Linked DNA regions of Homo sapiens: all the other regions are linked to region 1. The links are contacts of gene promoters, found by promoter capture Hi-C in blood cells and fetal thymus (Javierre and others, 2016). All regions are on one chromosome and are shown on one strand. The core of a region is centred on a gene start or on the middle of the fragment in contact, and the rest is flanking DNA. Distances in the headings are between cores, read along the strand shown. Region 1 holds the start of IRS1 (insulin receptor substrate 1). Region 2 has its middle 610 kb from the start of NYAP2. Region 3 has its middle 600 kb from the start of MIR5702. Region 4 has its middle 580 kb from the start of MIR5702. Region 5 has its middle 530 kb from the start of MIR5702. Region 6 overlaps LOC646736 (a long non-coding RNA gene).

Evidence for each region. The method cuts DNA at HindIII sites, captures the fragments that hold promoters and counts their contacts. A CHiCAGO score of 5 or more calls a contact.
Region 2: a contact is called between a fragment that was not itself captured here and the fragment with the promoter of IRS1 in region 1, in 1 of 17 cell types (M2 macrophages). The highest score is 6.4, in M2 macrophages.
Region 3: a fragment that was not itself captured here is called in contact with the fragment with the promoter of IRS1 in region 1 in 3 of 17 cell types (M2 macrophages, monocytes and M1 macrophages); the score reaches 5.8 in M2 macrophages.
Region 4: a fragment that was not itself captured here is called in contact with the fragment with the promoter of IRS1 in region 1 in 1 of 17 cell types (M0 macrophages); the score reaches 5.4 in M0 macrophages.
Region 5: a contact is called between a fragment that was not itself captured here and the fragment with the promoter of IRS1 in region 1, in 3 of 17 cell types (M2 macrophages, M0 macrophages and M1 macrophages). The highest score is 10.4, in M2 macrophages.
Region 6: a fragment that was not itself captured here is called in contact with the fragment with the promoter of IRS1 in region 1 in 1 of 17 cell types (M1 macrophages); the score reaches 5.2 in M1 macrophages.

What each region holds. Positions count from the first base shown.
Region 1 is chr2:226,798,166-226,801,929 of GRCh38, reverse strand. IRS1 (insulin receptor substrate 1) reads left to right here and starts at 2,110. Exons shown (of 2, transcript NM_005544.3): 1 at 2,110-3,764. The coding sequence starts at 3,192. It also overlaps a transcript of RHBDD1 not described here. RefSeq lists silencers at 572-781, 1,742-1,811, 1,832-2,251, 3,242-3,291. The HindIII fragment of the contact is 8,747 bases long and covers 1-3,764 here.
Region 2 is chr2:226,008,909-226,012,672 of GRCh38, reverse strand. No RefSeq gene overlaps it. Among named protein-coding and RNA genes, the nearest start is that of NYAP2, 610 kb to the right of the region's middle. The HindIII fragment of the contact is 4,284 bases long and covers 20-3,764 here.
Region 3 is chr2:226,054,112-226,057,875 of GRCh38, reverse strand. No RefSeq gene overlaps it. Among named protein-coding and RNA genes, the nearest start is that of MIR5702, 600 kb to the left of the region's middle. The HindIII fragment of the contact is 953 bases long and covers 1,222-2,174 here.
Region 4 is chr2:226,073,273-226,077,036 of GRCh38, reverse strand. No RefSeq gene overlaps it. Among named protein-coding and RNA genes, the nearest start is that of MIR5702, 580 kb to the left of the region's middle. The HindIII fragment of the contact is 3,937 bases long and covers 1-3,764 here.
Region 5 is chr2:226,131,001-226,134,764 of GRCh38, reverse strand. No RefSeq gene overlaps it. Among named protein-coding and RNA genes, the nearest start is that of MIR5702, 530 kb to the left of the region's middle. The HindIII fragment of the contact is 1,947 bases long and covers 1,128-3,074 here.
Region 6 is chr2:226,154,250-226,158,013 of GRCh38, reverse strand. The region is part of intron 2 of LOC646736 (a long non-coding RNA gene); the gene reads right to left. Among named protein-coding and RNA genes, the nearest start is that of MIR5702, 500 kb to the left of the region's middle. The HindIII fragment of the contact is 3,048 bases long and covers 589-3,636 here.

The sequences.
Region 1 (3,764 bases), core at 861-3,360:
CCCCATCCCAGCGCTAAACATCAAACCTGTGAAAAGCCCTTTGGCCTTATCTGGATTACATTGTTACTAGTAAACAACCCTTTTATAATCTCTCTTTTTTCTTGTCTAGGGTAAAACCAGGCACACAGTTACACTTTTCCACCAACTTCAGGCTTCTTTATTCTGCACCTCCCTGCCCTACCCCCTGTAAGGCACTCTATACCCCCAGAATTTCGGTCACTGTGAGTGCCGCCTCGCTTCCATTTCCAAATATCTGCTATTAATAGCCTTGCTGTAGTGGGCACGTGTGCCCACATCACCAAGCTGTCAGAGGAAAAGAAGGGAGGGCTTTCAATTCAACATGTGTACTCAAATTATAGATTAACCAGGTTTAGATGAGGCTGCATGACGACCGGGAACAGGAAGGGGAGAGGAGAAACGAGAGGCTCCCAGGCTTGGGTGGGGAGGAGCCCCTCTGCAGATGCCCAATCCCCCTAATTTACGTATCGCACACCCCTGAATGGCGCCTATGGTTCTTTTTCTCCTTCATCATCATCATCTTCTTTTTCTTTTTTTACTACGCTTTGCAACCTACCTTGGTACCCTCAACCCTTCTACCCCCACCTTCCCTCTGCAGTGCAAGGCTTGAAAAACAGGCCATCCCACCAATCAGCAGGCCTCCCCGGGAAACTCGCTCCGCCCCTCAGCCGCATTGGGCCGAGGCGCGCTCCCCCGCGGCCCGCCGGGTCCCAGCCACTGAGCATGCCCAGCGCCTCGACTGCTGAGTGCCCAGCCAGCATCCTGCAGTGCCTGGGAGCCTGAGGCCGAGGAGGGTCCCGGCGTAGTAAAGGGGCGGCAACCCCAAACGGGCCAGGCATCAAAATGAGACAGCATTAAACCGAGTGACATCTCTGTGGGTCCTTAGTGCCAGGCGAGCAAGCAGGGACAAACTGCTTGTTTATAGGTCGGCTTAAAAAATAAAAAAACTCTGGGGAGCGTTTGTTTGTGGGGAGACTGATACCGCAAGGTGACCCTGAAAGGGGCGCTTCAAGTAGACCCAGGCTGCTGATCTGGTCCACTCATGAAGTAACCATTTTCCTGTACAGTTGAGCTGGCACCATCCTTGTTTTCTCCCTGTTATCCTTGTGGTCAAGGTTAAAAACTTATAGGGTGGTTCAATGGGTGTGGGAGCTGTGTGTGAAACAAACATTTCAGCCAATATTTGCACAGTAGGGTTTTGGCCTTATGAACCCTCTGAAGGTCCCTAACAGCTTTTTAAAGTCACGGATAGACTTCGGAATATGATAAGGGACCTCTCATTTCCCCTCCCCCATGCCCTCAGCCTTAGGTGTGAGTCCCCCCGTCACACGGATGGGCAAGGGGAGCAGGAGAAAAGGTGATATTTACATTTTCTCCCTACTTGATCAGCAACTAATTCCACAGCGCCGGACGTGAGACACTTCCTGGGGATCCCTGTTCTCCTTTTGTAGTGACCATAACTGCCCCCAGTCACTGCCCTTGGGCGTCCCTCTGTTCCTTCCAGGTACCTCACGGCAGCAAATCTGGGGATCCCAAGGTGGAAGGCTGGCCCAGAAGTCCTTTAGAAAAACCTTAAAAAATACAGATCCCCTCACCATGGCCTATCGCCCTGAAGCCGAAATCTAGCTTTTAAATTTCCTGGGGGAAACAGCCTTGACTAGAAACCTCCCTCCCGTGGGTCAGTCTTACCTGATAGGTAAGAGGCAGCCCAGCTCCGGCGCCCCCGCCTCCCCCCGGCCTCCCACTCGGGGCTCTGTAGCCGCAGTGCCCCCCCGTGGCCCCCCACCCTCACTCCTGCGTCTTCCCGAGCTCGCCCCCTCCCGTTTTCCCAGACTCCCCTCGTGCTTTCGGGTAGCCACCCAAACACCCCCGCCTGCGCCCGCCGCGGGGATTCCTGCGGGCCGGGGGCGCCCCGGTTGGCGCGCGTGTAGGGAGGCGCTGCGCCGGAGCTGGCGGCCGCGCAGGGGCGCTGTCCTAGCGCTGCGCCGGGGTCGGCGCGGGCGCCGCTGCAGCACGGCTGGGGGGCGGAGAGGGGCGGGCGCGGGGCGGGCTCGGCCCGGAATGTAGAGACCCGGGCGGGAGCCTCCCGGCGGCGGCTGCCCGGCTGCCGAGCGCGGAGGCTCCGTCACGTGTTTTTCTCCTCCGAGTGAGACGGCGGCGCGGTCGGAGGGGGCCGGCGCGCAGAGCCAGACGCCGCCGCTTGTTTTGGTTGGGGCTCTCGGCAACTCTCCGAGGAGGAGGAGGAGGAGGGAGGAGGGGAGAAGTAACTGCAGCGGCAGCGCCTCCCGAGGAACAGGCGTCTTCCCCGAACCCTTCCCAAACCTCCCCCATCCCCTCTCGCCCTTGTCCCCTCCCCTCCTCCCCAGCCGCCTGGAGCGAGGGGCAGGGATGAGTCTGTCCCTCCGGCCGGTCCCCAGCTGCAGTGGCTGCCCGGTATCGTTTCGCATGGAAAAGCCACTTTCTCCACCCGCCGAGATGGGCCCGGATGGGGGCTGCAGAGGACGCGCCCGCGGGCGGCGGCAGCAGCAGCAGCAGCAGCAGCAGCAACAGCAACAGCCGCAGCGCCGCGGTCTCTGCGACTGAGCTGGTATTTGGGCGGCTGGTGGCGGCTGGGACGGTTGGGGGGTGGGAGGAGGCGAAGGAGGAGGGAGAACCCCGTGCAACGTTGGGACTTGGCAACCCGCCTCCCCCTGCCCAAGGATATTTAATTTGCCTCGGGAATCGCTGCTTCCAGAGGGGAACTCAGGAGGGAAGGCGCGCGCGCGCGCGCGCTCCTGGAGGGGCACCGCAGGGACCCCCGACTGTCGCCTCCCTGTGCCGGACTCCAGCCGGGGCGACGAGAGATGCATCTTCGCTCCTTCCTGGTGGCGGCGGCGGCTGAGAGGAGACTTGGCTCTCGGAGGATCGGGGCTGCCCTCACCCCGGACGCACTGCCTCCCCGCCGGGCGTGAAGCGCCCGAAAACTCCGGTCGGGCTCTCTCCTGGGCTCAGCAGCTGCGTCCTCCTTCAGCTGCCCCTCCCCGGCGCGGGGGGCGGCGTGGATTTCAGAGTCGGGGTTTCTGCTGCCTCCAGCCCTGTTTGCATGTGCCGGGCCGCGGCGAGGAGCCTCCGCCCCCCACCCGGTTGTTTTTCGGAGCCTCCCTCTGCTCAGCGTTGGTGGTGGCGGTGGCAGCATGGCGAGCCCTCCGGAGAGCGATGGCTTCTCGGACGTGCGCAAGGTGGGCTACCTGCGCAAACCCAAGAGCATGCACAAACGCTTCTTCGTACTGCGCGCGGCCAGCGAGGCTGGGGGCCCGGCGCGCCTCGAGTACTACGAGAACGAGAAGAAGTGGCGGCACAAGTCGAGCGCCCCCAAACGCTCGATCCCCCTTGAGAGCTGCTTCAACATCAACAAGCGGGCTGACTCCAAGAACAAGCACCTGGTGGCTCTCTACACCCGGGACGAGCACTTTGCCATCGCGGCGGACAGCGAGGCCGAGCAAGACAGCTGGTACCAGGCTCTCCTACAGCTGCACAACCGTGCTAAGGGCCACCACGACGGAGCTGCGGCCCTCGGGGCGGGAGGTGGTGGGGGCAGCTGCAGCGGCAGCTCCGGCCTTGGTGAGGCTGGGGAGGACTTGAGCTACGGTGACGTGCCCCCAGGACCCGCATTCAAAGAGGTCTGGCAAGTGATCCTGAAGCCCAAGGGCCTGGGTCAGACAAAGAACCTGATTGGTATCTACCGCCTTTGCCTGACCAGCAAGACC
Region 2 (3,764 bases), core at 912-3,411, 790 kb after region 1:
TGCTGAAGACATGTAAGCTTGTATTATTGAATATGAAAGTAGAAGTTTTCTCTTGACTTTGCCCCAGACAGAGTTAGACAGGGAAAAAAAGAAAAGAAACAAAGTTAGGGAGCATGATATAGATGTGAAAAGACACCAACCTCATATTCTGAAAAGCTAAAGGGACTATTATGGACATGGATGGTTAGCCATGGAGAAGTTAAAGCACAGTGCTCTTAGACATCTCCTGCATACATCTAAAGTGCCTTTCAACCCCTTTAGGCTCATATTTTCTGCTACAATGACTGCTACTAGTTTTGTAAGTGCTAATGCTAATTGAAACCACATCATGGGTGCAGATCAAAAATAAGCCAGTCAGGCATCCCTGCTGAAAACGTACGCAGCAGGATGACCCCTTTGTTCTTCTTAAAAATGAACTAATTCAAGACAGGCACTGCCTCTGGATCATTATTCATTAATGTATGCAACATTCCCTCTGCCGCACTCTTTCCTCTTTCTCTCTCTACTCTTCACTATAATTTTCATGTGGAAAAGTAAAAGAACGCCAGTTCTCTTGTAAACTGCATAATTGGGTTTAATATGCAGACGTGCCATTTCTAGGCATGTACGTTTTCTGCATTAATAGGAGTTATACGCAAAGCATTTAGAGATCACCTGTGGATAGGCTTGTTAATTAACGGAGTTAGAGCCTTATTTCATTCCATTTAAACCAGAGTAATTGAAATCAGCATAATCACCACTGCAGTATTCAGTACTTTCGCCCCTTTTCAAGGTTATTTTGGCAATTATGTTCTTGGCTGAGCATGTTAGTAAATGCTGCGGTTACTTCCTGTACTACTTGACTTTTCTTAATGCTGTGCCCTGTAGAATGTATTTTTCATTATTCCATTATTTTAAAAAGCTAGTAATAATTTGAGTCACCCTTCAGTTTTTTCAAAAAAAAAAATCTAATCCAGTCTACAAGTTGCTTGGGGAAAATGTCAGAAGATTAGGTTAAATCTGATCCTCCAATAGGTCATATGCTACTTTGTGAATAATTTTTTAAATGCATATATATATACTATCAAATTTAATATTAGTTGGATGCTAGTACATATTCTGAGGTTCCGGGACATTTGTTATTATATATTTATTTATAATACAAAGTTTTTTAAAATTTGAAAATGAATGTAAATATTCTCAATTTTATCAGATGGAAGAAACTAAACTACTTCAACCTGTAGACAAAAATAAAAAGCCCCTTGAAATTATTTTTTAATTTTTAAAAATCATTTTTACAGAAGATGAGAAATTACCATCTTTCACACTTTCTACTACTACTGGGAAAGAAAACTTCCTATTGCTGTTCTGCATAATTCTAGGATTAGAATGTAAAACCCAAGATGATATTGTAATGATTCTATTCCGTTGACTTATAATAAAGTATTTTCTTTCATCCAAAGTGATACTGCAGAGTGGCCCAATGATTTTTTCCCTATATGCCCATTTTCCTGGGTATAAATACAACATTTTCTTACAAGTAAATTAACACTAGGAGTTTATACTGTGTTTGATAGTTTGCCTTCACACATTTAGCCTCTTTCCACTTATACTTGGTACAGTTCCAACAACTAATATTTACTTATTTTTTTCCTATTTGCATATCTATATAAACATATTTCTGAAGACTGGTTTCACCAGCAATATACACTTCGTGAATAATTTTATCACCTGATATATTAACAATCTTACAGTTTTATTATAAAATTGGTATATGGCTCATGTTGCTGAATGTTTTTAAGGGATATGAGAATATTGCTTATTTAGCTCCTTAAGATGAAAATGAGGATGTATGCATGTTTCCATTCAGTATTGTTGTCTGCATTGTCTTTTTGTGGGGAGCGTTTGAAAATAATCATCTGTTCACATATTCTAACCAATGGTATTTGCAAAAACAAAGTTGATATTTACATATATTTTAAACCATTTTCCAGTGGCTTAGTAAATCTTATTTCGACATGCATTTTCTATCTATATTTGAGCAAGTTTTTTTTTGGAAACCTCTTCTGCACTGTGCTTTCCAGTTAAAATTGTCGTTGTCAAAGACAACTTGAAAACATTCTTTTGAATCAGGTCATCTATGAAGTATTTACATTTAATATCTCAATGAGAGAGAAAAAAGAGAGAGGTTCATCAATAATGATGATTTAAATTCACTGTGTTTATCAGTGTAAATGAACAATCAAAAAACCAGACATCCCTGGTATCTTCTGTACTATCCTACCCAGGAGAGCTCAGCAATAACCTACTTCAGCAATTCTAGCTAATACTGCCTTGCAAATTTGCCCAAATGCATTTCTGTTCATAGTCTATCCTGATTTGGTAATATGCAATTACAGAAAATGACCATTTTAATATAGAACAATTTTCTTGTAAATTACACAGTAAAAAATATTTGAAACATATTAAAATCAAGTGGATTTAGAATGATTATAGTTATGAATTACTGTAATTTGGTCTTACACAGCTAATTCCAAAAGACAGAACAGCCGTTTAGCAATTTCCATTCTCTAAATTTCTCATAATGGGATTTAATGAAAAAAATGAAATCATCGTGTTTTCCCTAAAACTCTCTCCTCCTCTTATATGTTCTATTTAAATAAATGAGCCACCACCCTTTCAGACACTCCAGTCAGGGAAACCCAGGAATCACAATTTCTTTCCTCTACTCCTTACTTCAATACTCATGTTCTCATAGATACCCAGGTGAATGGATCCAGTCCCACCCATCTCCTCCACCATCTGCTCCCACTTCAGATACTCACTACTCACTAGCCTTTGAGCCTCCTCATGAGGCACGTAGCCCACCAGACATACAGCCCTTATTGCATGTTCAGCATAGTGGCTACAAAGGTCTCTCTAAAATGCAAACCTAGCCATGCCTGGTGGCTCACAACTGTAAGCCCTTTGGGAGTCTGAGGCGGGAGGATCACTTGAACCAAGGAGTTTGAGACCAGCCTGGCCAACATGGTGAAACTCCATCTCTAATAAAAATACAAAAATTAGCCAGTCATGGTGGCACATGCCTGTAATCCCAGCTACTCAGGAGGCTGATGCAGGAGAATCACTTGAACCTGGGAGGTAGAAGTTGAAGTGAGCTGAGATTGTGCCACTGCACTCCTCAAGCCTGGGTGACAGAGCGAGACTCTGTCTCAAAAATAATTAAATAAATAAATACAATACAATACAATACAAATCTAACAGTGTCACATTTCTGCTTAAAATCCTGCAGTGGGGGCCGGGCACGGTGGCTCACTCCTGTAATCACAGCACTTTGGAAGGCGGAGGTGGACAGATCACTTGAGGTCAGAAGTTCGAGACCAGCCTGGCCAACATGATGAAACCCCGTCTCTACTAAAAATATAAAAAATTAGGTGGGCATGGTGCGCACCTGTAGTCCCAGGTACTCAAGAGGCTGAGGCACAAGAATCACTTGAACCGGGAGGCGGAGGTTGCAGTGAGCCGAGATCATGCCACTGCACTCCAGCCTGGGTGACAGAGTGAGATTTCATCTCAAAAAAAAAAAAAAAAAAAAATCCTGCAGTGGGTAAAATGTTGTTTACTGTAAATTCAAACTCCCTGGCATGGCACACAAGGCCCTTCATGCATGAGCAGCCCCTGGCCAACGTCTCCAGCCTCATCCCACACCGTTATGTCAGTTGCATCTTATTCTCCAGCCACAGACTGTCCCAGCCAACTGCCCTTCCAAATGTCTGTCCTCACCC
Region 3 (3,764 bases), core at 449-2,948, 740 kb after region 1:
ATCAAAGATCCTATGGCTTCTTTCAGTGGCAAACAGTCTTAATTTAGTATTGAGACTGCTATTAGTTTTAATGGCAAAAATGCAATTATTTTTGCACCAACCTAATTGCAATTGCTCAATATAACATGTTAATTTATAATCCAATATTTATTGAAGGGAAAGATTTTCACTTCACCTATCCTGAGCTGGTAGCCTGTAGTCCTGCCTTTTCCAAAAGCTAAGCACCTTCTCTCTTTATTGCTCACCTCCTCACCACTCCTTGGCTGCTGTTGTGAATGGCTTCAAGATTAACAGTGGGGGAGGAGTTAAGGGGAGGGACAAGAGATAAAGAAGGTTCTTATGTAACTGATAATGAGAACATGCTTCATGCTCTGAGGTCTTGGCAGATTTTTAAAACTGTCTCCACCTATCATGGGAGCTTTCCTGAGTTTCTCAGCATTTCCACTGGAGTAGTCAACTGTGCTTTCTATGATACAGGTGTTGCAACTTTATCTCGTCCTCTGGACTCCCATTAGCCTCTGGTTTCTGACAGTCCTTTTACATCATGTCTCACTGTTGGTCCTATCATTCTTTAAGATGGTCTTTTTAGAGAATGTCAGGTGTCTCTGTCCTTGCATGGTCCATCTGTAGACAATAAGAAAAACTCCTGAATTATTGTAGAATTGTAGCTAACTCAAACATAGCTGAGCACTCTTTTTATGTCCTACAGTTTACAACTAATAGCTGTAGATTCTTGCCTTTAGACTCTTTCGGCTTTTGTCAGGCACACGTCCACTATATACCACCAAACTCCTGGCTATATTGAAGCTTATGTCTTGTAATGAGGGGCAAAGAGTTGGGTTGGAAGATGGACTCACAGCACTCTGCCAATTACCCAATAATTTCTTTGAAAAGGAAAGATCTGTTCTGATCATCATTGCCTTGATCATCTTATGTATTTCGTATAGAAGATATACATTTTATATTCTCACTGCTCTCGGTCACCTACTTTGAATTACTTATAAGCATGCCTGCCTTATCCCTTCTATTGTTGGCTTGGTTCAATTTAACATCCAGTTTCATGAGCTTGTTCCTTTTGTGAGCAGAAAAATAAAAAAAGAGAGAGAAGAGAAAGAAGGCATTGTTTTTCTTTGGAAGCACCCACAGCACTGGGAACAAATGTGATTCCCATCTCCTTTTCCCAAATGGAAGAGATGGTAAAGATTGAAGAAGAAGGAAGCTTCCTTATCACCACTTCTGGGCTGGGAATCCTTCCTAGGTAGAAAAATTCCAAGAGGAAAGGGCATCAAGCAGTTGCCAGACTGATGGTTTTCTACCCAGTAGCTACTTTTCTCCTTTCTAATAAATTTGATTTTGAAAGGGGCAGCAATAAGCCCCATTTAGAAAATAAACAAACATGCAAACAAACAAACTTGCATTTCTTAGACTTATTTGCATAATGGGTGAATAAAATCCACCTTGCACTTGTTGACTTGGATTTCTGAAAAAACAGTGCTTAAGAGCCTATTCAGCCATTGGCACTTCCCTTCTGCCTCCTTCCAGCCTGGACTACTAACTTGCCACTAGGGTTGGAGCAGCCATCTTGAAACAATAATTTAACAACCAAAAGAATCATAGGGCTTTCCAGTTGATGTTCCCAAGTCTTAAATACCTGTTTCCAGACTTCTTGTTACAAAAGAAAAATGTCAACCCTCATTTGTTTAAGTATTTTTTGGTCTCTTTTACAGCCAAATATTTTTCTTAAATTATGTAGTAGCTGTGAGACTTTGGGCAGGTTTTATAATATCTGTGGACCTCTGTTTCCTTATTTGTAAAACGGAAATTTTACCCATCTCAGAAATATTTTGAAGATTAAAAAAATACCATGGATGGAGAGTGTTAAGCATAGTTCCTGGTGTACTATAGTGAATAAATATAAAATTACTACTTCTCTCCATATAAGTATGACTATTTCTCAAATCCAATTTAGATTCTAAATCAGGAAAATATAGGCTGTGGATGAGAAGAGTGGAGTACATTTTTAAAAATCACTGTAAGTACATTAGAGTTTTTTTCTTATTAACTCTTATTTGTAAACTTTGGGGAAAAAAATGAAGATGTACCCAAGTAAGTCAGCCAAATCCATTCCACATAATTCTGTATAACAAAAGCAGATTATTTGGATGAAAGAAGCTTATATCTTAAATTTTAGAAATTATGGGGGTTATTTGAATCCATTCTAATTCAAGAAGATTTTTTCATTATCATATTTACTTTTGTAAATGTAGATGTGATGTGATAAAATTATAATATTTCTAACTGAAAATCTCATCTTCCAACAAATGTACACTGCCACAGATGGTAACTGCCTTGGCTGTGGCCACATAGGTTAACATATATGCATGTGGATGTGTGTATATCCATGAATATATGCCTATAAAATTTTGGGTTGAAATGAGATCCCTTGTCTATTAATACTTAACACACGGTACTTCTGAAACAAGGCCCTAAAATCAAGGGAAGACGATGACTTGTTATTAACTCTCATGCTTACCAATTAACAACTCAAGCAAATGCTAGCTTTCTCCCCAGATTTAATCATTCCTTTCTTTCTTTTTTTTTTTTTTTTTAACTTTGCTTGGTTTCAGAATCCTCTAGGAGTCCTACCATGAAACCTTCATGTCCACGGCTTAATATTTTATACCATCTTGTTGTCAAACACTTTTTAAGGCTTACTTCTACAGAGTACCCTCTTCCTAACTACTGACTTTAGCATTGACCTGCATCTTGCTAGGCAATTGCTGTCCATAGTTGGAAAAGGTCGTAGTGAAAAAGATTATGTGCCATGGTCAAGAACTTGTAAAAATTTCCTTAATGCCTTCTTTTTCATCTTTAGGCCTACCAAGGATGTAGATACTTGATTCTTCCATAACATACACAAACAAATGGTTATAAGTCAGCTATTAAATCTTTTCATCAATATCATTCTTAAGGTCTTTATAATGGAAACTTAAATTTTCCATTGGCACCTAAGGTATCAAATAAATCATGATATCTGATTCTAGAGAGCTCTGGGCTTGAAAGGCCTTGGCAGGACTCATGTCACGGATGTGTAGTCTCACGCAGGGCCCTGCACTGGGCTTTAGTTTAATGCTCTGCTGTCATCATCTTGAAATTTTTAATTTGTGAACAAGGGCTCAGCATTTTCGTCTTGCACTGGGCCTTGCAAATTATGTAGCTGGTCCTGGGCTCAGTTTTTGACTACTTCTATTCAGTTGGAACCATAAGTTCTCTTACAATCAGTTGATTTTCAGAGGCTAAGTCTCTGGCAGTAAAGTTTCCCAATGGACTTTCTTTCTATTTTAGGATTCCAATATTACATTAGCAAACAAGTCCTTAGGGCTTTGGATTTATACCAGCGTTTTATAATTGACTTTGTCTTTTACAGTAAAAATAAAGTTTGTGCATCTGCCTATTATTTAAAACCACCTTCTGCATGGTAACAATTACTTTATTTTAAACAGATTCTCTTAATTTATATAAAGCATTTTTTCTCTTCTTTCCTCTACACATCTAAGAGTCATATTAATTGCAATTCCAATTTAAAATATACTAATCAGTGTTTCAAAGAAGATAAAAATACTGAATTTTTTCTTGCAATTTAATTAAATATCTTTGATTCAGACTCTAAGCGCAGTGTGTAAACTGAGATTGAATTTGGATTCTACAAGTGTATGTGTTCATGTATTACCTTAAGAGGGAAATAATTTGAGATGCAAAAATAA
Region 4 (3,764 bases), core at 561-3,060, 720 kb after region 1:
AGAGAAGTGTATTTACATTTGCTTTATATTCATTTTTAAGTGACCTTTTTCATGTAAATTTCCCTGTAATTGTATAAATACTTAAATTAAGATTTTCTATTTTACCTTAATTTTCATTAAATTCTTATCTCAGTATTCTCAAAATACATTATTTCTCCTAGGAAAATATTGTGCTTAAGCATTTGTCTGATAGAGTTTCAGATAAAATGATACCCACTTAAATTTTCTCCTAAATCTGTGAGTCAGTTTCAAAAACTAACCCTGCTTTGTGTGCTTGGCTTAGATAAATGGTCACATTCATGCCAGAGCTGGTCGTATCATTGTTCTTGGTCAAATTCTTTTGACATTCAGTCAAAGCATGATGAAGGTCTCCAAAATATTATAGAGTAAGATATTAATCTGGTAGATAAGGGGACCCAGGAAAATCACACTCAAATAAAGCACCCAGAACTATCAGCTTATTGTAAGAATTCCAAGTTAAACACATGATCTGTTATTATTCAGCATTTAGAAACACCTGAATCTCTGAGCTTCACTTATAATAATTTGGAAGGAGACCACTGTATGTCCATCCTGATGAGTATTTAATGTAAACCAAGAAGTAGATCCAGGGACTGGTCAAATAGGATAGTGACTCAAACCAGGTGTTGATAATGTAGATGAGCAGCCAGGAGCAAGAGTACCCAAGACCAAGTGCAGATTCTGACCCTGAAAAATATCCATAGTTAAAAGGATGAAGAACCTGAATCAGTAAAGGAAGTCAAAAGTAAGCAATCACATAAGGGCCGGAGTGGAATATCAAAAAGGTAGAAACAGAGGCTGAAATGAATCAACACAATTTAAGACTTTTGCCATGCACAGCCTAGAATGGCAAAAGAATACTATTCCCTTACAAGTGTAGGCCAGATGGCATGTGGATTACCGTGGTTTAAAGCACAGGAAGGCAATCCATGTAGATTGGATGCTACTAGTAGCTTCCTAAGTAAGCCAAATCTCTTCTTCCCTACCAGCCTCATAAGAACCTCCTATGCTGGATTAGGCAGGAGATACAGGGAAGGGAAATTGTATGATACTGGAATGCAACTCAACGTCCAAGCCACGGCTCAATTCAAAACCCAGTAACCAGCTATTTTAAGGATTATTTAGGAATTTAAATGGAAACATTCTAATGAAATGGAAACCCTATGCCATCCATAAGATTCAAATTCTACATTTTATTAACTTGACACTTGTATCATGTGATAAAAATAGCTGATGAATTAGGTTATACCTATCTCCTGCTGAGATTTCTATAAAGATTTCTACCTGTAGAAAAAAGATGTCCAAATTATGAATTGTTAGAGTGATGCAGAATTTTTCTTGGCCCCCTCACTGGACTCAGAGCAAGAGTGCCCCTCTCTGCTTGGCCTGCTGTGCTCCTTTATGGGAGGGAGCATGTGAGAGAGCAAATGCGGGACCCAGCTGGCTGCTCCAGGCACTGACACAGGAGCAAGCTCCATGCAGGGCCTGTGGTCAGACCAGGCATGTCGCCTTGAGGGGAACGTGGTGGTGTCCAGGTGAGGGTACCTGTGACTCCAAAGTCCCAGAGGGGGTGTTACAGTGCTCCTTTAGTTCTACTGTCCTTGGACGGCGGTGTGTTAGCAGCTCATTTGGCCCCTTGCCTCATCATGAGAGGTAGCTGCCCTCTACCAGTGATAGCAAAGGGCCAGTGTGACAGCCTTTCTGGGTACCCACACTCAGTGGGTCTTGAGCTCTTGTCCAGCATCTAAGAAGAATGAGGTCACATGGATGGTTGAAGGATGGTGAAGGTGGAGAATTTTCTTGAGCAGTAAAAATGGTTCTCAGTGTAGAGGGTTGGTGGAGAGAGGATGGGAAGCGCAGGTTGTCTTCCCCAGAGTCAGATTGTTCCTTCCCTGAAGTCAAGCCATCTCCTTTCCTGAAGTTAGGCCATATTCTCCTCTACTGACTGAGCCTGTGGTCTTTATAGGACAGGACGGGTAGAGCATGCTGACGGTTTGTGAGTGTGCACAAAAATTTAAAGCAAAGACACCACTCAAAGGTGGGAATGACAGTATAGAAAACCAATTAGGAAAGGGTAGGTATATGTAAAATAGGTGAAGAGGGGAGATCAATCAGAGGAAAGCATGCCAAACAGGAAGACAAATTCTTAATCTGTTCTGAGTATTTAAGTTTTGGCTTGGCTTTCAGGCTTTAAAACATCTTTGGACTAGAGGTGGGGTTTTACTGGGTACCCACCCCTATCTGCCTATGCATTTGGCTGCCTCCTGTCACTATCAATAGCATTATATATACATATTTTAGGTAAATATGTGAATCAAATGAAAGCTGTATTTAATCTACATTGCCAAAGTATCTAGAGAAAACAATGGTTCACAGAATAGTGACACATGAGGTAGGCATGGCCTCATGTTTGGATTCGGATCAAGCCAGGTCATTTGCTAACTCAAAGGATTGGAAAGACCTTAGAAGTCACGAAATTCAACGTGCTCTGATGCTTGACTGTCCCTCGCCCTTCTCCCCAACCCACATGATCTAGATCTGCTTTACCACTCTCCCTGAGACTGTAAACTATTCATATAGTTTCTCCTGAAGTACACCACTCGATTTTAGAGAACCAAATTCTTAGAAAGGCCTTTCTTGTTTTAACTAAATTATATCTCCCTATAAATATCTTGCTTTACTCCTGGGTCTGCCCTTTGGGTCCAACCAGAAAAACTCTCAAAACAGGGAATATTAGTTTTTATGTTTTTGGCTCTTTGCTTACAATTCAGCTTTTCAGACATTTGTAAATCCTGTCATAAACCTCTTTATTTAGCCCCAGTTTCTTCAATATTTACTCATGTTTTCTAATTGCTGCTAACTTCCCTCTCATCTGGGCCCTCTTCTCTGGCTAGACATGCTCTATTTTCTGATGTAGATTCCCTAACTTCCCATGATGCTCCCAAAATTTATACAACTTCCAACAATTTCTCCCACATCAATGGTTTTGAACTGGGCCAGAATTTCTTCTGATCTTAAAATCCTGTTCTTTGTACCAGGATTTCAGGTCTAATCCAATCTCTGCTGATTTCTAAAAGCAGCAATCTGTCAAGTTTTCACCACCACTTTCTGCTTTCCCTTTCTGTATCACAGGCCCAGTTTTAAACTTCTGTGACTTGTGACTCACATTGGCAATGTCAGGGAAAGACCTCTTCAAGACAACCTGTAAGCTACTTTTGAGACTCACATTACTGCTCAGGATAACACATCACCTTGATAGCAGAGACAAACTTTAATTTGTAATAGCCTTACATTGAACCGAGGCCAAAGTGAATAGTGATGCAATAGCTGTACCCCTAAATTACAGTATGTCCAAATGTGTTCATCCTCGATCAATGTGTTTTGGACAAGCTATAAATGTGTCAGAACATTTTCTCATTATCAGCTTGTCAACTAATCATATTCAACTTTTATTTTCTTATTTATGCAAAAATCCCAGATTGAAGTTCTATGTAATACATAGACAAGGCCAAACTTTATTAACTCCTCTCATATTCTAGTAAATGTCATCTGTGAATGCTCATAAATAACTTTTCAATTGTTTCCAATTCTTGTTTATTTTTCTTTTTTTATTCTCAGATCGAGCTCAGAGACTATTTTTCATGGAGGTCTGGTAATACGCCAAAGTTGGAAGCTATTGTTCAGCATATTTGGTTACTGTTGAGGGAAGGACATTTATAATGCTTTAATTTTACCCTTTACAA
Region 5 (3,764 bases), core at 852-3,351, 670 kb after region 1:
TGCACATAAAAGCAAGAGGCAAATGTGATGGCCCTTTTATTCCTGCATACTGTGGCTTATTTAAAAGGAAGTTAATGGTAGAGTATTAAGTCTTGTTTCCTGTGCATGTCATGTTTTAATGGTGTTTATTTCTTTTTTGTTTGTTTGTTTTTCTTTTCTTTTTTCTTTTTTTTTTTTTTTTTTGTGGCAGACAGGGTCTTACTCTGTCACCCAGGCTGGAGTGCGGTGGTGCAATCTTGGCTCACTGCAACCTCTGCCTTTCAGGTTCAAGCCATCCTCCCACCTCAGCTTCCACACTCAGCTAATTTTTGTATTTTTTTGATAGAGAAAGGTTTTTACCATGTTGATCCAGGCTGGTCTCAAACCCCTGACCTCAGGTGATCAGTCCTCCTCGGCCTCCCAAAGTGCTGAGGTTACACGTGTGAGCCACTGCACCCTGCCTAATGGTGCTATTTCTAATCTAGGTTTTGTACCACTAACCTGGATGTCTTCTACCTTGCCCAAGTTTGTCTGAGGAGCCCCAGAACAAATAGGACTATTGGTATTATTTCAGTACTAGATAAATTAAAATGTCCTCCTGGAGATGCTCAATGAACATTTGTTTGTCATTATCGAGTAACAAATATAAAATTAATGAATATTATTACTTCATGGATTCTTGAAGAATGTAACAAAAAAGGAAATGTACATCCGGATGAGGATTTAAGGTAAAATCTATGAAAATAAATTAGTTACTCATCACTTTATATTAGCAGATTAAAAAAAATGTAGCTGTCCTATAAATGAAGTGGTTTTTCCACTCACCTGTTTTGGGTGGACCATTTTTATGAAGTTGATTGTCTTGGTGATAAGACAGCATTAGAGAGAGACCATGAAGTGCTAGATTTTGAGTTCTGATCTATCTACATCTAGAAGATGATTTCAAATGTTAGCAACAAGAAATTAGATTGAACGTGATGCCAGTAGCTCTTCAGGAATCTACCTGCAAAACGTAGCATGTAGAGGACAGAGATGGGAAGATGGAGAAACGAGGATGATGTTTCTTTTTTCCTGCCTCCTCTCAGTGACTAGGCTTGACCACTAATAGGAGCACACTAAAGAGAGAGATCTGAATTACACAGGAAGCTTTATGAAATGCAGAGAACCAGCAGCTCAGCTCTGAGTGTAGATAGCAAAACAGAACACAACTGGAGAAAAACACATCCCATTTCTGACAAGAGCTCCCCATGATTCAAGTGGTACAAAGAGGGCTGGAGAGGAGGCAGTGCCCCTTGATATCTGGCATATTTGCCGTCTGGGGATGCCCTGGAAGGCCACATCCTTGGTAGAGTAGCAGTGTGCCCAGTGAGGTCACCTCCAGCCATGACCCCACAAGGCACAGCCCTCAAGTGGCTTGCAGACAGAAAACATCCAGGAGAATGCCAGCTGAGAAGAGAAAGGGGGATTTTTCCAAAGCATCCATGAAACATCCCAGAGAATAGGAAAAACAGGGCGAAAAGGATCTCAGGTGAGGTTCTGTGAGGGTCTTCAGGATGAGGATGAGGACCCTCACAGAAGGCTCCTGACACCACAGAGTTTGTGCTTTTTTGCAACAAGGGAGTTGGGCTCTGAAACTGCCTCACTAATTTAAGTCAGCCATTGTCTCAAGGCCTCCGGGCATTTGGTGAGCAGGCAAAAGAGCTCAGCTAGCCCAAGGATATAGTACTCTGAAGAAAACTGCAGGTGTTACACCTTAGAAACAAAGCTCTCAGAAGTTGGGGGTGGACACACAGAAACAGTAAAAGAAACTTCAGAGGATCAAGATAGAACCCAACCAACACTTGCTATGCCACCTTAGCCAGAAATAGCTGGGGCTAACTTTGCAGAAAATAGCATGGGTGCTGAGGGCCCGCAGTTCAGCAAATGGAGGCTAATAAGTTTACGTAACTGCAATGTCAGCATATACATGACCTCATTTATATTTGCAGGATGGTGAAGCCTTGGTGGGTTACATATGAATAAAAAAATTCAGAATTGGAAGGGATCTTGTAGATCATCTAGTGAGAACTCTTTCTTCCCATTCTGTAGCAAAGATACTGAAGTACCAAGAAAGATAAGTGATTTGCCAAAGAGAAGATAGCTAATGTGAAAGTGAATGCAAATGGAATCACTTGTGTTAAAAACAGACAAATAGGGCCAAGGAAGGCCATGAAAAAGGTTTCTCATGCGTGAATGCCTGATAACAAGGCTACCACAAAAGACTCTGCAAACACCACAACCTTGCACAAAGGCCATTGCAACCTTACAAACACACAAACAAAAAAAACAAAACTCACCAGGTCATTTGCCCAACAATTGCCTGTCCAACATCAAACTGACATCATACTTGTTGCTGATCCTTATAGCCAAGGATAATTTTCTCAAAAGAGCTACGTAACTTTTTTTTTAAGAAAAAACTTTGTCTTCCTTTACCTCCTTGAATACACATACAGTTTACTATGGAATGGGTATTTTCATTGCAATAACCATTACTGAATAAATATCATTCTGTTTTAGAGAGTCTCTCTCTGTCTGTTATTTAGGTTAACACTAACTAGTGGCAAAGCCAGGATTAAAATTCAAGTTTTCTGATCTCAAATTATGTTTTCTCTAATTATCCAAGACACATCATAATACAGAAAAATTTTGTAATTTGAGGATTTGCAATGCCTACCCTGAAAACATGTCAAGTATGTTGTGCTCCTTTCCGTGTCTTATGACAGAGTGTTGGCACTGTGATTTTATTACATTTACATTTAATCTACTCTTGTTCATATTATTACATTACTTTATGTTATCCTGAACACAAACTATTTTAATATCCATCTGTATTTACTAGTGACTTTCCAGGTAACATAATAGGAAAATGCAAAGCTCAAATTGCTGGTGTTGCTGAATGGGGGTGATAAAGAATACCACGTTTCCTTGTCTTCGCAGGGCTAGATTTACTGGAATCAATCTATTTCCTTTTTGAGAAATTGGGCAGCTGATCTCTGACTCCCTGGCCCATTGTTTTCTTGGGCTCTGATAGAGATTATTGCATAGTTTATTAAGCTTACTTCCCCCAAAAGCTGAATGTGATGTAATAGTGCCATCTGTCACCTTTTGTAGAAGGCAGAGAGGAAAAGCAATGCCTTAGGAAGCCTGAGGTTGATTATAACAGGTCCTGAAATACAGCTGTGGCTTCAGGTATTAAGGCCAATGGGCTGCTCTGTGCGGTGCAAAACGATGACAGAGCCTGGAGTGTTCTGGGCCATGGCCAGGGAGGAAAGGCCAGCAGAATAGCAAAAATAAACCTGCTGAGTGACCCTGAAATACCTGGTGCAGAGCCACATTCCTCTCAAGGTGAGCCTGGCTTTTCCTTGCCCTGGTTATCACATGGCCAGGGAGGGTGCTCTCTGTGGTGTCAAGACTATTCTTAGGCCTGATTCAAAGGGAACATATGAGGTCACAGAAAGTAGGTTTGGATACAGGACCAAATCTGCCATTGAATTCCAAATCTGTCACAGATTCTAAGATGTTATCATTTAACTATGCCATGCCTCAGCTTACCCATTTGATAGTGTAGAGTACAAGAATACGATGAAAATATGTGCCAGAACATTACACACAAACACATCTCTCTATATAGACTTCATACATATATAGCTTGCTTAAGACTGGGATCAATGAGGATATCAGAAATTTAGAAAACCTAGTCTCCTTGGGATAGCACTAATACTTCAATTTTTTTCTCCATAGATTAT
Region 6 (3,764 bases), core at 863-3,362, 640 kb after region 1:
AGTGAATTATCGCTGGAATGGAAAACCAATGCATATTCTCTCTTACAAGTGAGAGCTACACATTGAGTGCACATGGACACAAAGAGAGGAATGAGAGATACCAGGGTCTACTTGAGGGTAGAGGCTAAGGGGAGTCTGAGAGTCAAAAAACTGCCTGTCAGTTACTGTGTTCACAACATGAGTGATGAAATAATTTGTATACCAAACCTCAGCAACATGCAATTTACCCATGCAACAAACCTACACACATACCCCCCTGAACCAAAAAGTTGAAAAAGAAAAAAATAAATTGTATAAAAATGGAATATGGCAATTGTAAATAAGTGGTACTGCAAAAAGCAATAGAAATTAGAAAGGAATCAATGTGGACTGTGCATTTAAATAAAACATAGCTGAAGCAATGGGTTTGAGCCAGACCAGATGGGTAGGCAGGGTTTATATTGCAAGGGAATGAACTGAGGAGGCTTTCTGGACAAGAACAAACCTGGGAATGAACACTAGGAACTGACTGGGGATCTGGGATAAAGCAAACTAAACACAGAAGAAGTTTTGTACAGCTGAGAAAAAAGACAAAAATCAGTATAAGCTTCATTAGGAATGTATAGGATTCGTGGAGTGTAACCATAATGCCACTTAATTTTGTATTCTGTCTCTTTAAAATTCATTGAAGGGATTTCTTTCTCTGCCTGAGCTATATCTTGGGGCATGAGATGACTATGCAAATAAGTACCATGGATTCTTAAGTCACCAAACAGAATCTTCGTTCAGAAATTAGAATGTCCAAATGCATTTAATATGCAAAACTCCAAACTTGATTAAAGTTAAATTTTCTCAACTCCTCCAGTTGGAGCCTGCCTCAAACAAGAAGCCAGGAATGGAGATGTGGTCCTCATTACCTCCATCTCTCTCTCTCCCCATCATACTGAGACTGGGTTCTGATCCACCCTAGCAGCAGGAGTGTGGCGGAACTGAGGGCAAAAATAAAGGTGAAAGGAAGATATCCCTTGACCAGCATTGCTGTATGACGGTGTTGCACTCTCTGGGCCTGGCAAGTGTTTCAAGCTGCCTCTTGCTTTGTAAATGCCTACCTGGTTTGTGCAGAGGTTTCCATGAAAAAAAAAAAAAGACTGTGCTGCAATGATGCAGACTACCACCTTCCATTCACCCCTCGTGACTGCCCACCCCTCACAGACTGTCCCTGTTGAATCTCATTACACATCTAGTTGTTCATGACCTAGGATATTTATTCTGGGGTGAGCGTGTGGTGGGATTGCTCACCAGTAACTCAGAGATTACTATAAGGGAAGTAAAATCCAGTTCTTAACCTTTCTCTCCTGAGCCAAGGTTTCTACAGACTGATAGGAGGCCTAGGAAGGGTCTTAGGTCTATTTTGAGCCTCCATCCTTGACTAACTTATATATTTAGACATATTTAAAAACATAATATGTCATAATAATATTTGACATATTTAAAAACACATCTTAAGATGATTTTAAATGTCATTGTATTTAGATGCCATTGTTGCATCTAGACTTTTGGTAATAGGAAAAACCATCTTTGAAATTGACTGGGTTCATCACAGTGATCTGAATGTGTCTATACTTGTGTACTGAGATCACACACACACAAACCCTGAAGGAATGAGGGGAGTGATTTTGCCTAATGAATATAAATTTAGAATAAGGCAAACATTCTTAAGCTCTTTGTGCTATGGACTTTGCAGTATGGTAAAGCCTATAGACCTCCTTCTGAGGAAAAAAAAAGTTTTTCAAATGCATAAAATAAAATGCACATGATCCTAAAGGAAATAAATTATATTGAAGTATAGTTATAAAATAATTAAAAAGTGATATAGTAATGTCTGTTTCTCTTTTTTCCTTCTTTTTTTTGTTTTGCCTTCACTTGGCATGAACAAAATGTGTTTCTTTATTATATAATAAGAGTTAGTGTCAGGGCCAAGAACATTATATTTTAGAAGTATTGGTCCATGAAAATGGTATTCCATAATATCTCCTACAATTGAAATGTGATATGTGATATGACATACATGATTTCCGTTGGTGACACAGTTGGAGGTGTTGCAAATACTGCTGCAGTTTGTTTCATAAATTCCTAGTTAAGTAAAGTGCCACATGTCAGAGAACAGGGAAAACAAAGGTTTCTGAATTCCATCCTGGATAAAAAGCAATCTGCTTGCATATTGTCACTGCCTGTTTCAGTGAAATATTGCTAGTCTCTCCACTGAGGAGGTTTAGTCCATAGTATTTAATGAAAGATTTACCCATTCCTTGAATCTTGTTTACTGATTCCTCCCATCCCTTCTTTTCTTCCGGTAGATTGTCACAGTCTGTTTACAATGCTCAGTTCAGCCTGGCTTCCCTCATCAGCAAGGCGTGGTCCCTAGCTATTGAAAAATATTACTATTTCACAGGACAGCAGTTTTTTGTTTTATTTCTCCTAGCACTTTCCTGTGCATTGGGGCACTCATCTACACTGGATATGACTTTTGAAAGAACAGGAAGGGATCTATCAGGACCAACAGTTTTCCTTTTGCCTAATAAGATAATGATGGCACCAAAAATAAAATCCCTCCCTTCCCTCTGGAAATGCAGGCCTCCTGATGGGATTTCTACTTTGCCTCTCCAGCAGTGTGAAATGACCCAGGGAAAGACTTAATAAGTAGATGTCAGCCCCAGTGTAAGCAGAAAAAAAAAATGATGAATGGACCACTAGGCAACCCTATCCCAGCACAGTTTGGCCGTGGACTTTGCATTAGATTCTGTAGTTTTTCTGTCTTAAATATCATCAGGGATTCTCAAGTAGTTTCAGCCTGAGGCTATTACTCCTAATAATTGAGACTGATGAAAGGTCGTGGTATTTTTACAGTTTAGTTGTGGCACGCTATATATCACTTTGCTTCCGTCAAAGAAAATATTATACACTTCATTGGGAAAAGGTTTGATCCTGAGTTTTTCCTCTGCAAGTTGTCTACAATGTATTTACTTGGGTTTACCTACAAACTTTACATTTAAAATGCTCCAGAAAATTGCCTGGTACCAGAATGAGATCATTCAGGTAGAAAGCAAATGTTTCAGGATCATTAGGAAATTAATTACATGAAATGATTGACACGTTCCAGCTAGAGAGGAAGTGTTTCATACAGCCGTGCTTGTTTGAATACAACACTACAGATCCCTTGTGAAAAGCTGCTTACCGTGCTAAAATAGGAAAAGTGACTTAGGAGGAAAATCAACAGTGTTAGAAAATTGTCTAGTCAGGGAGTTTCAGCTCTGTGGTGATTAATTTTCTTTTCCTAGTTATGCCTAGTTATTGGTGGTTTCTGAGTTTCTATATAAAGGCTGGCACCCCAGCCATAAGTGCCTTGGAAATTTGTTGTTGTTGTTTTTTTTTTAATCAGGGAAACATTTTATTATTTGGCGGTTGGGGGGGGGGGAATGGGAGTGTACAAATTGAGGTGACTAGTAATAAAAAGAACAAGTTATTTATGATAAAGGAAATAGCACATATTAAAACCCAGAAAATCTGTCTGAAGTATTCAGAGGAAAATTCACAGTGTCAAATTCTGTATAAGTTGAATGACCCATACAGAAAAATAGAAAACATGTAAAGTAAGCTTGTAACCGAAGAATCCTCTCAAAGTCTTAAGGAGGACAACAAGAAAAAGTAACAATAAAAAGTAAAAATAAATATAGGTTTTTTTAAAAAAAGATATACTGGGTTTAATATATCTTAAAATTATTTAC